Linked DNA regions of Homo sapiens: all the other regions are linked to region 1. Evidence: promoter capture Hi-C in human tissues and cell types (Jung and others, 2019). All regions are on one chromosome and are shown on one strand. Each heading gives the region's core, a stretch centred on a gene start or on the middle of the fragment in contact. The rest is flanking DNA. Distances are from core to core; before and after follow the strand shown.

The links. Contacts are between HindIII fragments. The study calls those that stand out against the background at their distance.
Region 2: a fragment that was not itself captured here is called in contact with the fragment with the promoter of BTBD1 in region 1 in 1 of the 25 tissues and cell types used here (mesenchymal stem cells).
Region 3: a fragment that was not itself captured here is called in contact with the fragment with the promoter of BTBD1 in region 1 in 1 of the 25 tissues and cell types used here (lymphoblastoid cells).
Region 4: a fragment that was not itself captured here is called in contact with the fragment with the promoter of BTBD1 in region 1 in 1 of the 25 tissues and cell types used here (liver).

Annotation. Positions count from the first base shown.
Region 1 is chr15:83,065,344-83,068,815 of GRCh38, forward strand. It overlaps BTBD1 (BTB domain containing 1), which reads right to left and starts at 1,909. Exons shown (of 8, transcript NM_025238.4): 1 at 1,408-1,909. The coding sequence starts at 1,808. MIR4515 (microRNA 4515) reads left to right here and starts at 1,992; the gene lies at 1,992-2,072. RefSeq lists silencers at 1,227-1,396, 1,637-2,116 and enhancers at 2,177-2,296, 2,307-2,356. The HindIII fragment of the contact is 16,507 bases long and covers 1-3,472 here.
Region 2 is chr15:83,994,604-83,998,075 of GRCh38, forward strand. The region is part of intron 23 of ADAMTSL3 (ADAMTS like 3); the gene reads left to right. Among named protein-coding and RNA genes, the nearest start is that of GOLGA6L4, 240 kb to the right of the region's middle. The HindIII fragment of the contact is 7,176 bases long and covers 1-3,472 here.
Region 3 is chr15:83,834,297-83,837,768 of GRCh38, forward strand. The region is part of intron 6 of ADAMTSL3 (ADAMTS like 3); the gene reads left to right. Among named protein-coding and RNA genes, the nearest start is that of ADAMTSL3, 180 kb to the left of the region's middle. The HindIII fragment of the contact is 3,077 bases long and covers 161-3,237 here.
Region 4 is chr15:83,578,215-83,581,686 of GRCh38, forward strand. All of the region lies in intron 6 of SH3GL3 (SH3 domain containing GRB2 like 3, endophilin A3), which reads left to right. Among named protein-coding and RNA genes, the nearest start is that of ADAMTSL3, 74 kb to the right of the region's middle. The HindIII fragment of the contact is 6,416 bases long and covers 1-3,472 here.

The sequences.
Region 1 (3,472 bases), core at 659-3,158:
TTAATTTGCACTTCCTAATTACCAGCCAGGTAAAACATTCGTTAATTAGTTGTATTTTTTCTTTCTCTAAGTTATCTATCCTGTCCTTTATCCATTCGTCAATGGAATCTTATTATTTGTTTCTAGTTGTGTGAACTTTACATTCATTTTCTTGTTCATCTTTCTGATTCAACTGTGAACCTTTGTATCTAATTCTGTCCCACTGACCTGCCTGTTTTTGCTTCAGTACTACCCAAGACTCTGCCATTTTAATAACAACACGTTCTACTCAGGCAGCTATTTAAAACCATCTTAGTATAATGAAACAGACATGGTCTTCAGTGTGAGTTAGCTGTTTGTTACCTTGGGCAAGATACTTGACTCTTCTGGGCCTCAGTCCCATTTGTGAAATTGGGGTAAACAATTCTTACGCCTCCCTAACAGGATGGCTGTGATTAAAAGCTAGTAATGCCAAACAATCACCTTTTCATTAGATGTCAATCTACTATCCTCAAATAACCAACAAGCAAATTCTAACATCAAGGGAGGGATTCATTTATAAGCAAATGTGACCTTGTGTGTAGAAACACAAAGCAGGTAAAGCCTCACTTGTCTGTTTTCGTATTTACTTTCCTGGGTCTTGACAACTAATACGTTAATGAAAAACAAAAACAAAAACAAAAAAGTGGCCAGGCGCGGTGGTTCACGCCTGTAATCCCAGCACTTTGGGAGGCCGAGGTGGACGGATCGCTTGACCCCAGGAGTCCGAGACCAGCCTGGGCAACATAGTGAAACCCTCTCTCTACCAAAAATAAAAATAAAAAAAATTAGCCGGGCGTGGTGGCGCGTGCCTGTAGTCCCAAATACTCGGGAGGCTGAGGTCGGAGCATCACCTGAGCCCGGAGAGGTCGAGGCTGCAGTGAGCCATGATCGCGCTACAGCATTCCAGCCTGGGCAACAGAGCAAGACCTTGTCTCAAAAAAAGCGGGGGGAAGGGGGTGACAATAACCCCAAAACATCAGTCCTGCAAGATTTTTCAACTACTCTCTTCCCCCAAACAAAAACATAAAACTTCGCAAATGGGCAATCAGGACAACCTGATCTGCCCCTCTATCCTTGCCACTTGTCTAATTCTGAAGTCTGAGCGACAATCCATAATTGGAATGCGAAACGCCTTTCAATGGTAAAACGCACGCTTGCCTAATGAAGACACTAACGTTTAGTTGGCGACTGAGCCGTCCTGGTTCACAGATTTCGATTTCGACCCTCCGGAGCATCAACGGCTCGGGAGGAAACTGAGGCCCCGGGCGGGTCAGAAGAGCCCAGCCCAAGGTCATCCGGGAGTCCGGGTAGGCCGGGCCCCGGGGATCTCCCAGCCCGGCCCGGCCCGGCCCGGCCCGGCCCGGCCCGGCCCGCGCTGCCGCTCACCTCAGCAGCGCCAGGAAGGCTGCGGGCTCCACGTCCGGCAGCTCGATCTCGGCCGACGTGGTGGCCATGCCGCCGTTGAACATGGCGTCAAAGACGGCGCTGCCGGCCGCCAGCACGAAGCGGTGGGCGGGGATGCGCTGCGGGCCCCCAGCGGCGGCGGCGCCGCGACCCTTGCCCAGTACGAAGCGCACATCGCTCAGCAGCTCCGAGTTGAAGAGGAAGGCGAAGCGCTCCTTCAGCGACGCCTTGGTCGCCTGCCAGTTGTAGAGAGGTTCCCGCTGCAGGGGGAGCAGGGGCCCCAGAGAGGACGGTGAGGGCGGCGGCGGCGGCCCCGCGGGGCCCGGCTCCGCCTCAGCCCCCGACGCCTGCTCCCCAGCTGCGGCAGGCCCGAGTGAGGCCATCCTCCAGCTGCGCGGTTGCCCACGTTATGGACAAAACTCCGCCGCCATCGCCCAGGCCGCCTCCGGAGGCCGGCGCTGCCTCCCTGCCTTCCGGGAAAGGCGCTTCCGGGGGCCTCGCGCCTCCGCAGGCCCCTCCCTGACCGCGCGCGCCCCCGCACGCCCGGGTTGCCGCTGTGCGCGGCCGCGGGAGGTGTAACAGGACTGGACTCCCGGCAGCCCCAGGGCAGGGGCGTGGGGAGCTGGTCCTAGCTCAGCGCTCCCGGAGGTGGAGCTTCTGCAGGCTGGGTGCTGCCGGGCCTACGGGCACCCACCCCCTGGCTCAGTGCCCTGGGTATTCTGACTCAGTAGGTCTGGGGTAGGGCCTGAGAATTTGTAATTTTAAGATGCATCGTGGATCTGCAGGCGGCTCTCACGGCTGCCTTTTTCTTCCTGCAGGCCCCTTATCACCAAGTCCAGCGCCCCCATTGTGTATCTGGGACATGTCCCAAGGCCTGTCCCGAGGAGTGTTTTGCCTGGAAGTGGAGGGGCAGGAAAGTATGGCCAAGGGAACACGTGAGGGAGGGGATGACATGACTTCCCACAACCCTGTACCCCAAGCGTGGCCAAGTCGCCGCTCCAGAAGGCCGCGAAACCCGTGGAAATTCCGGAAGCAGAGGTGGAAGGCTTAGAACCCCAGTGACCTCTCCCCAGGTCCGCAGGTCCCTTTCCCTTCTAATTGACCCTTTGGTTCCGTCCTCTGGGCCTAAGAGACATTTCCTTCTACTGCTTCCACCCCTGTATTTGAAACCCCTCGTGCTTGCCCACCTTCTCTTGTAGCGCTTTTCAGTCCTTGCACTGAACCACTGCCTAAGCTTGAAATTTAAAAAATTAAAAACTAAAACACACACACAATGGAAAAGGCTGTATTATCCCTTCCCAGGCAGTATTTACAACCCGGTCATCATGATTGGGGGACCGAGGCCTTCCTTTTTCTCCCTTCAGTGAGGCAGGCCCTGAGTTAAGTCAGCTGTCAAAAGCAGAACGTAGAAAACCCAAGAAATAGTCCTTGACCAGGCACGTATAGTTGGAAACACCTGTTCTTTGCAGGAAGAGCCTTACAGATTACAAATGCCGTCAAGTAAATAGTAAACCCCAAACCTGGGTTTCTCCTGTAAAATCACTCCACTTGTGAAACCACCAGAGGGGACTTCCAGCTGTTAGGCATTTAGAATGGTAACTTCTTTGGGAGAGGAACGTGCTTGGGAAGAGACTTAAAGTAGTAGGGGCTGAAATAGTGGATGCACAACCCCTTCCCCATTGCCAGCCGGCAATTCCTAAAGACAAAGGGACATCATGCTACTAATGATACCATTATCACACCTAACAAAATTAACCATATCATCAAATCATCTATATATGATTTTTTTTTTTTTGAGACGGAGTCTCGCTCTGTTGCCAAAGCTGGAGTGCAATGGCATGAAGTCTGCCTTCCGGGCTCAAGCGATTCTCCTCCTCAGCCTCCCGAGTAGCTGGGGTTACAGGTGCGTGTCACCACATCCAGCTAATTATTTGTATTTTTAGTAGAGACGGGGTTTCACCATATTGGCCAGGCTCCTCTCCAAGTCCTGACCTCGTGATCTACCCGCCTCGGCCTCCCAAAGTGCTGGGATTACAGGCATGAGCCA
Region 2 (3,472 bases), core at 312-2,811, 930 kb after region 1:
TTTTTTTTTTTGACACAGAACCTCACTCTGTTGCCCAGGTTGGAGGGCAGTGGTGCAATCTCAGCTCACTGCAATCTCTGCCTCCCAGGTTCAAACGATTCTCCTACCTCAGCCTCCCAAATAGCTGGGATTACAGGTACAAGCCACCATGCCTGGCTATTTTTTTTTTTTTTTTTTGCATTTTTAGTAGAGACGGGGGTTTCACCATGTTGCCCAGGCTGGTCTCGAACTCCTGACCTCAAGTAATCCACCCACCTCAGCCTCCCAAAGTGTTGGGATTACAGGCATGAGCCACGGCATCCGGCCCTGGAAGGAGTTTTTGTATAGTATATTAGTTGTCAACATATGTGGAAGGGAGGAAGCAAGCAGGATTAGACAGAGGGCAAAGGAGAACTGTGATGCAGGCCCACAAAGTCTCACCAAGCCCCCTTGAAACATATGTGACTTATTAGAGTTGTCCCAGGCTGACCCACAGTGGCCAGGCCTTCATGCCCCTGCCTCCTGCAGTCACTGGCTGTGGGCCTCTCTGGAAGGGGCATATGTGCTCTTGGGTCGGCGGAGACAGATTGTGAAGGGACTAACAACCAGAGGCTACCAGGAGCAGGGACACTGAGTTCCTCCTTGAAGGTTGATTTGGGTGGAGCATCTCCATCTCTACCACAGAGATTTAAGGAGATAAAATTTAGGATCATCTTAATAGATGTAGACAAAGCATCTGATAAACTTCAACACGAAAATGATATGAAAACCTCTTGGCAAACCAGTAATAGAAGGGATAATCTCTACCTTGATTTGCCTGTCAGAAACCTATTGTAAGCATCATACTCACTTTAATGGTGAGACTCAAACAGTCCCATTAAAGTCAGGAAAAAACATACGATGCCCTTTATCACTATATCTGTTCAACACTGCGTTAGCACTAGCCAGTGCAATAAGATAAAATAAATAGAAAAATTAGAACTAGAAAATTAGAAACCAAGACTAGATAACTAGAAAAATTATACAAAACTAGAAATATAAAAACTAGAAAATAACTACAAAAATTTCTTCTTATTTATAGATAATATAATTATCCCCATTTAAAAGCAAAGAAAATATACAAAGTTTTGGATCTCTACATTCAGAATAATTTCAATAAAAAAAGCAATCCTGTAGGATTGCTAGAACAAACTGATCCTATAATTAATATGAAAGCACATATGGCTGAGAATAGCCCAAACATTTTTTAAGAATAACAAGGTGGGTGAGATTTGCTCTATCAAATATAAAGACTTAGCATAAAGCTTGAGGGCTTACAGCAGTGTAAGAGGGATAGACAAATAAATGGAACAGAATGCGGAGCCCACAGCAGATTCAAGCATACAGTATATGGAAACTAAAATTTAATAGCAGTAGAATTAAAAACCAATAAAGGACAGACTAGTAAGTAAATTGTTATAGGATAATTGTTTATAAATATAAAAAACTCAACCAAAAATAAATTCTAATTGATTTAAGTGCCTAAAATATGAACATATTTTTAAAAATCATAAAATATAAGAGATGTCTTTATGACTTTGGAATGGAAAAGATACAAAAAATACAAGTCATAAAGTAAAACATCTATTGTATAGTGATGATGGGGTTGCACAACTCTGTGAATATATTAGAACTACAGAGTTATACTTTTAAAGGGTGAACTTTTTGGTTTATTAATTATATTTCAATAAGCTGTTATAAAAAACATTGACACACTTTGCTGTTAAGATATAAAAGTTCTGATCCCTGAAAGACATTGTCAATAAATTTAAAAGTCAAGCCACATTTCTGGCAGAAAATATTTGTTATATAGTACCAGAATATAGAAATAGCTTCTCTGAATCAATACAAATAAACCACTCAATATAAAAATGAGCAGTCCGGGCGCGGTGGCTCATGCCTGTAATCCCAGCACTTTGGGAGGCCGAGGCAGGCAGATCATGAGGTCAGGAAATCGAGACCATCCTGGCTAACATGGTGAAACCCTGTCTCTACTAAAAATACAAAAAATTAGCTGGGCGTGGTGGTGGGTGCCTGTAGTCCCAGCTACTTGGGAGGCTGAGGCAGGAGAATGGTGTGAACCCAGGAGGCGGAGGTTGCAGTGAGCAGAGATTGCACCACTGCACTCCAGCCTGGGCAACAGAGCGAGACTCTGCCTCAAAAAAAAAAAAAAAAAAAAAAAAAAAGAGCAAAAGATATGAACAGGCAATTGTCAGAAAGTGAAACCCTAATAGCCAATAATGGCATATGAAAATGTTCTCATTTCCACACTGGTAGGGAAAATGTCCTCACTGCTAAGGAAATTAAAATAGAAGTGAGATTCCATTTCATATCTATTGGGCAAAAGTTGGCACTACCAAGGGTTGGCAAGAGCATGGAGAAATAGGACATCATACACTGCTGGTCACAGTGTATATGTAATGAACCAATTTAGAGAACAATTTTGTAAAATCTGATCAAGTCAAAGATGCTCAAAACCAGACATTTCACTTGTGGATATAGCCCTGTTTTTGCAAAGAGAGTTTCAAGAGTGCATTGTAACATTGTTTGTAAAAGCAGAGAGAGAGAAGGATACATACCAGTGTCAGGATTGTTGGTTCTCCTGGGAGACAAAAGAAGAAAAGTTTGGGGATAGAACTTTAGCTCTAGCTGTAATCCTTTATTGCTTAAAAAAGGTCTGAAGCGGCTGGGCACAGTGGCTCACACCTGTAATCCCAGCACTTTGGGAAGTCGAGGCAGGTGGATCACCTGAGGTCAGAAGTTTGAGACCAGCCTGGCCAATATGATGAAACCCTGTCTCTACTAAAAATACAAAAAATTAGCCAGGTGTGGTGGCACATGCCTGTAATCCCAGCTACTTGGGAGGCTGAGGCAGGAGAATCGCTTGAACCTGGGAGGCAGAGGCTGCAGTGAGCTGAGATTGTGCCATTGCTCTCCAGCCCGGGCAACAAGAATAAGACTCCGTCTCAAAAAACAAAACAAAACAAAACAAAACTGAAGCAAATATAGCAAATATTAATGTCCATTAATTTTTAAGCAAATATAGCAACTATTAATGTCCATTAATTTTGGAGAATGGACTTTTTTTTGACATGTGGTTATCAGTTACATTGTTTTGTTGTTGTTGTTGTTCACCTCCTAGCCCTGTTTCCTGTAAGACCTTGGACCTATCACATAGTTTCCTTGCTCCTTGGTTTTCTGTTATAAAATGAGGAATTATGATGGGATGACCAGGAAGACTGTTTCCAGTCCTGAAATTCTATCTTGGACCATTGGTCCTTTGCAGGAATCTGGGACAAAATAAAAGTAAATGTAGAAAAAGTGCTTGAACTAAGATACCTGGCCAGTCAGGACTTAGAACTGAGTGCCAAGAGTCCTCACCTAGTATTGGGAGGGAATCTAGGAAGAAAAAAAAAAAACAAAAAAACTCTCTCAAAATACGTAGACACAATGT
Region 3 (3,472 bases), core at 449-2,948, 770 kb after region 1:
AGTTAATGACCACACCTAACTTCAAAGGGGGTGGAGAAGTGCAGACCTTCTGTGGGCTGAAGCAAAATGTTTCTGAGTATCCCCACTGACTACCACAGCTCCATATACTCTGATTTTTAAGGCAGAAATGTCAGATTTTTCCCCCAAGTTAGATTCTGATTTGCAGAGATTTCAAACGGTTGATTTAAAAAAAAAATTGTTTTGTTCTTGAATGATTAAATTTGACTGCTCTGAAAAATTCATATTTTGCTTCATTTGGACTAGTGCCACTTATTTAAGTATTATCATCTTTTAGCTGATTAGGAAATCATATGCAGGAACTGTGAAATAATTTTTAGCTGAAGTGATGATTTATAGATGAATATTTATTCCAAAAAGCACTACTCATATATTTTAAATATTTGTTTATGTCATCCACTATCTTGTGTAACTTGTCTCATTAACTACACTGTAAGGTAAGAATCTTATGTTATTAATTTATGCTCTGTAGTGTCTGGCAGTATAGAAAATGGTTATTTAATAGATGTTAATAAATTTTATTGATATATCTGTCAATTAGTAGTTAATAAATCACTATAATTAGAGATCATGACTTCAGATGATGTCATAGAAGTTGGAAACACTTCAGGCAATTTTTTAGAAGTTGCTTATTGTTGGGCCGGGCGCTGTGGTTCACGCTTGTAATCCCAGCACTTTGGGAGGCCAAGGCGGGCAGATCACGAGATCAGGAGATCGAGACCATCCTGGCTAACACAGTGAAACCCTGTCTCTACTGAAAATACAAAAAATTAGCCGGGCATGGTGGCGGGTAGCTGTAGTCCCAGCTACTCGGGAGGCTGAGGCAGGAAAATGGCGTGAACCCAGGAGGCAGAGCTTGCAGTGAGCTGAGATTGCACCACTGCACTCCAGCTTGGGCGGCAGAGCAAGACTCTGTCTCAAAAAAAAAAAAAAAAAAAGTTGCTTATTGTTGATTATGATGGGATATGAAAGCCAAAATTCAGTGGCCCCTCAATTTCAAAGGCATTTCTGGCTTATTCGTTATGAATCACAAGGCAAGACTTTCTTTTCAAATATCATTTTTCTGTGATGTTTTCACATGCTTTATTTTGCTATAACATTTGGATGAATTGTAACTTAAAAAAAATTATGAAGCAAATATCAGTGCTCAGGGAGGTATTCAATTGCCTGAGATCTTGCAAGGCCTTAAACACTCTTCAAAACAAGCCCCTCCTAGCTCCTAAGCCCACGCCCTTCCTGGATGACCAGATAGAGAGTGATTCTCATTCTCATGAAATGCAGAGTGCTCAGGGACATGAATGTGTGAGGACAGAGTTTGGCCCAGGAGCAGTGTTTCTATAATTTAATAGTGGTATTACTCCCCTTGGAGAAAGTTGCATGAACACAAGTTACTCATTGATTGAATCTTGACCATGCAAGTGTGTTTCCAAAATCAATCACTCTTAAGTTGTTCCACATGTACTTGTAAATGTTAATTTAATGGCCTGTGTAACTGGGCTTTTGTTGTTGTTGTCTATCTGCTGATACTTAAGGTAGAGGAAGTTGTAATGTAGTGTTAAGATTCTGAGTCAGATAACTTGGGTTTTAAAACCATTACCAACACTATATACTAGCTGTGTAATATTGGCAAATCATTTACTCAGTAATGTTTAGATTCCTTATTTATAAAATAGAGTTAAAGGTATCACCTCATGACAAAATTGCTCTGAAGATTAAATGAAATAATGTGTACAATATTCATGGCATAATGCCAGGTACATGCTAAGCATTCAATAAAAATCAGCAATTATTAATATTGTATTACTATCTTTATAAAATCATATAATCAGGATTAAAGGATCTCAAAAGTCATTGGATTAAGCTACTCATCCAATAATTTAATCCCCCCTACAATTTTTCCACCAAGAGATCTCCTAGACTATGATTGAATACTTATTATTAGATAACTCTGACTTTTCAAACTTTCTCATATTGAACCAAATTATGCTTAAACCTGTAGCTTTCACCATTTGGAAATATACAGAACAAAAGTAGACCCTTTCCTCATGATAGCTCTTTGTGAATTTGAAAATATCTCTAATCATAAGCTATTCTCTAAACTTCCTTGAAACTTACTATCTCTCCCTGAAATTTTCACTTGATCTTTCTCTTTCCCTTCAACACCAAAATGTTGGAAAGAATTGTTATAAATAATTGTCTCAACTTCCTCTAGTTTCATTTCTTCTTCAACAGCTTGGATATAGAGTCTGATTCAACAACTCTCCAAGCTGAAGCATGAGGGCTACCCAGGAGTCAAAATAAGATGAAAAACACAGAGAAATAATAACATTGGCCCTTTTTTATTGAATCCTTTATAGTGTTTGAATCATTATACTAAGAATTTTACATATATTTTCTCACTGAATCATCACTAGGCCCTATGTGAAGTATATATTGGTATTATTATCTCTATTTTACTGTTGAGGAAAACGAGTCTCTGAGAGTTTGAATTTTTCAACATCCTGCAGCTTGAAAGGGTGGTGAGTGGATCCAGGTTTGTACGTGGGTGTTTTCTTCCTCCAAAGTCCCTGCACTTAAACACCAGATTTATAAATAAAGTTAGATGAATATGGGAAGGAAGGAAGAGATAAACCATCAGATCAGTTGATATTATTGTTGTTTACACATTATGTAAAATATATGCTTAAGAAATAAAAAAGAAATATAAGACATGACCTTTTTTCTCATATAAGGAAGCTTATAATATAGCAAATACACACACATATGTACACATGAAAAATGACAAGAGAAGGAAGGATAGCAGTATAAACACGTATTTTATATGAGACATCTCTCCTTTTAATTATTTTTTATATTTTAAAAATTGTTTATAAATATATAGGTATAATGACAGCGGTGGAGATACATAGGCATAGGTACAGCTAATGATAAAGACAAGGAGATATAAAGATATAGATAAAGACTATAGACAGATATTAATATAGGGATATAGATATTTAGAGATAGAAGTAAAAACAGAAAAAAAAAAGATATTTAAAGTAAAACTATGAACCAGAAGGTTATACATCAAATTTAGGACAGTGGTTGTTTTGGGGAGGAAATGAGAGAATAGGATAAGTGTAGGGCTGGGGAGAGAGGAAACGTCTGTAATGTTCTGTTTATTTTATATATATAAAAATGCCTGGGCTGGGCAGTGTGGTACATGCCTGTAATCCCAGCACTTTGGAAGGCCAAGGCAGGAGGATCACTTGAGCCCAGGAATTCAAGACCAGCCTGGGCAGCATAGGGAGACCCTGTCTTTACATCAAATTTTAAAAAGCTGGGTGTTGGGGCACAGGCCTGTGACTCAACCTCCCAGGCTCAAGTGATCCCAGCTACTTGGGAGGCTGAGGTGGGAGGATCACTTGAGCCCAGGAGGTTGAGGCTGCAGTGAGCCACAATCCCACTATTGCAC
Region 4 (3,472 bases), core at 421-2,920, 510 kb after region 1:
CTTGGGTTTAAGGGGCCATTGGCACTTTGACTGCCTGAGTGGAAGAGGTGTCAGCCACCTGCCTCCCTCCGGAGCCCCTGCCCTCAGCCTGGCTTCAGCGATGCCAGGAGCTGTCTCAGCCCCAGCATTAGTATGGGACCTAATTGTTAAGTTTTTAAACCTGTGGGAACAAGTCAGGAGGTTTATTTATCCTCAAGACCATGTCGTCCTTATAACAGTTTATTTAAAGGTACACTGAGGTCTTACATCCTTTGAGTCAAGTCAAAATGCATTGAGCACCCTTTATTTACCATGGTGATGTATGGAGGAATTATGTCCAATACTAACAAGACATTCATCCTGGAGAATTTATTCTCCCAACTGGAAATGCCAATTTGAAATTTCCCATGCCCATTAAACCACTGAGGCCTGAAAAGTACACTCTACTGTGTTTCTTCTTTTAATTTTTTTTTTTTTTTACATTTTTTTTGGGAAATAGGAGGAGGTGTGACAGTTTGGTATCTCTGTTTTTCTTTAAATGTATAAATTTCCTCTTGAAATTGTCCCCAAGCAACAGCGATTTTGTTTTGTTTCAGATTGCCGTATTGTTTTGAAGTCTTTAGAAAATGTATTTGAAGTGTGACATGTATCAGATACTCCTTGTTGGGCCATATGGAATGTTGCCCTGCTGGCTCCAGGCCCATTCATGGCTTAAACTCTGAGATTGTGTCTTGTGTGTCAGATGCGCCGTCTGACCCATTTGTTCCATTCACTGCCTTCATGCGGGAACCACAATGATGGGTTTTTGCGAAGTGCTCCATGAGGGAAGCCTGTCTGAGCCACGCCGGCCTTAGCAGTTGACCCAAGAGACCTCAGTTTTCCCCCTCAGTATCAGTCAAAAGTCAAAAAGGATCCCTTCATTATAAAAGCTCAATCATTTGTCCATGTTTTGACAGTAACACGTATTCTGCCTGTCACAAATGGGTTAAGTCCTCCCACCCTGCCCCAGCAGAAGTAAGAGCTGGTTCCTAGCCCAAGCTCCGCAGGGGCTCTGGTGCTGGCCTTGCTCCGGCCTGGTTGCAGTGTTTCCTCCAAGGCTTCCTGTGGGAAATTGACCTGCAGGTGAGTGGAGGTTTCCCCTGTTCAGCTCTGGGGAGTCAGGGCTGCTCCCTCAGCCTGGATCCTGGGGTCTTCACCTTCACAAGGAGGGGTTGTCTGGCTTCTACTTCTGCCATTGAGGTGGGAGGAGACCAACGTTATGAAACGGAGATGGGCCGCCCAGGCTGCCCGGGAACTAGGCTCTTCCCTCCTTCCTGCTTCCTGCTTCCTGCCATCTGTAGCTGCAATGGCTGCTAGGTGTGCTCTGGCTGCTGCTTCTTGCGGTAATGGTGGTGATCGTGATAATGATAAAGACAGTGGTGATAATGATGATGACAATGACAAGAGCTACCATTCACTGACACCCCATGATAAAGAGGCTAAGGGGGTGCTGTTGATGGTCCCTGTCATGGTGCATGTGCGTTTACCTTTTCTCCTACCCAGGTTTATAGCTGAGGAGACTCAGAGATGATTGTTTAGGCTTCAGAAGCCCATCTTACTCTCTTCTTGGGGTCAACAGCAGTTAGATCAGAGGGAATCACCTGATCCTTTTCCATGTCAGTGTGTCTGTGCCATAGCCAGGTGGTCTGACCATCCTCTCCTGTTGACCAGACAAGCTAGAGAAAAATCTCCTGCTGGTCACTCCTTGGACCTGACATGCCAATGCCGATACTGCCTGGTGCTTGGGGATAAACAGAGAATGTGACTAGTTGGGAGAAAGACAAAATGCCAATACATGGTTGATGGGGCATACATTGAACCCTTGGCCCTGTGTTTGGCCCATCTCCAACAACCAGGCCAGAGCTGGTGGCCTTGTAGCCCATGGGACTCTGGTTTCCTGCTCCCTGTGAGTCACAACCCGCACGTCCAACCTTGGTCACTCAACCTCTTGTTGCCATGTTGCTTCCTTTCCTGGTGGGGAAGTCCTGCATGAGGAGCTGTGCTTCGGGATGGCTGGGGAGGGCTGGATTTCCTGGCAGAAACTAAAGATGGCTGGGACCTGTTCTAATCGCCATGTCAAACACAGTGGGTCTTTGGGTGCTGCTGCCTGATGGATTGGACGGTGTTTCTACCTGATCTGGTACCTGCTGGAGACAAGGTGCACAAACTGTCAAATGAGTGGCTGCAAGGGAAGCCTGGTGGCAGGCAGCAGAGGCCCTGACACTTCCTCCAGACACAAGTGGGACATGCTTCTGTTACTGTGGTGGGAAGTTTGGGGATGTCAGTCACAGCCATTCACCCTTTGGGTTCTGACCAATGGAGGAAGTGACAAAAAAGCCGGATTGGAATCAAGGGACATCTCTTTAACTGATGAGAATGCTTGAAAATTGTAAAATACAGACCTCCTGGTCAACTGTGCTGAAGGACATGGCCTGGGCCTAAAGTCCTGTTGGCACTTTCCCCTCCTTGCACCTTCGGTGGATGACAGCCAGCTCTAGGGGAGAGCCCGCCTGTCTTACCACCCAGATACAGCCTGAGACGCTGAAGCTGGGTGAGTGGGAGCCTTGCTGGCCCCAACCCTGCAGAGCCAGTGACTGAGGCAGAGCAACCCATCCTACTAACTAGGGAGCACCCCCAACCTCATCCACAAGAGGAGGAAGAGGAGGGCCTGGCGAGAGGACTTAGAAGCATTCGCTCCAAAGAGAAAGTGAATAAGCAGAGAAGCAAATGAAGGGAAATCCTCTGAGATGGGTGTGCTTGGTGCTCTTGTGCTACCTGTCCATCTCTGTTTGGCACTGACAATTCAAAGACCAAAATCTCACCCTGGGGGAAGAGCTGGTGCCTTCTCCAGCCCTCATGTCTCATCATCCTGGCTAAGACGCAATAAAAGCTTCACCGGGGAATGCCTCAAAAGAAACTGTTTGCCAAAACTCTGACTGATGTGAGGAGAACCCTGACTGGAGTTAACAGACTTGGTCTTTCCTGGGTCTCCAGATGTAGTACTTCCTAGGGTTTTCTGGCCAACAGGCCATTTGCAGGGATTTCCAGGGTGTGGTTGTTCACTGTCCTCACCTCTGCATTCTCCCAACTGAGAAACAAACCCAGGGAGCCACATGAGATCACATGCCAGCCCCTTGCTCAGAGAGCAGGGCTCTCTAGAAAGCCATGTTGGAAGGGGCAGCTTGGGCCTGGGCCCACAGTAGAAGTCCAGTGAGCTATTCCTGGCCTGAAGTCTAGACCTTGGAGCCCCTGCAGAGAGAGCGGGTGCAGAGACCACAAAGCCAGATGACACACGATCTTGTGGCCACTTCACAAACCCACTTTCTTGAGAAATCCGGAGCCCAGAGCCAGGCCCCTACTGCCTTTCCTTGCAGTGTCTAGGTACCCTGGTTATTAGGGCCAAGTGGGTGCCACTCCCGTAATCTCACCAGTTAGATGAATCACCAAAGGAAGG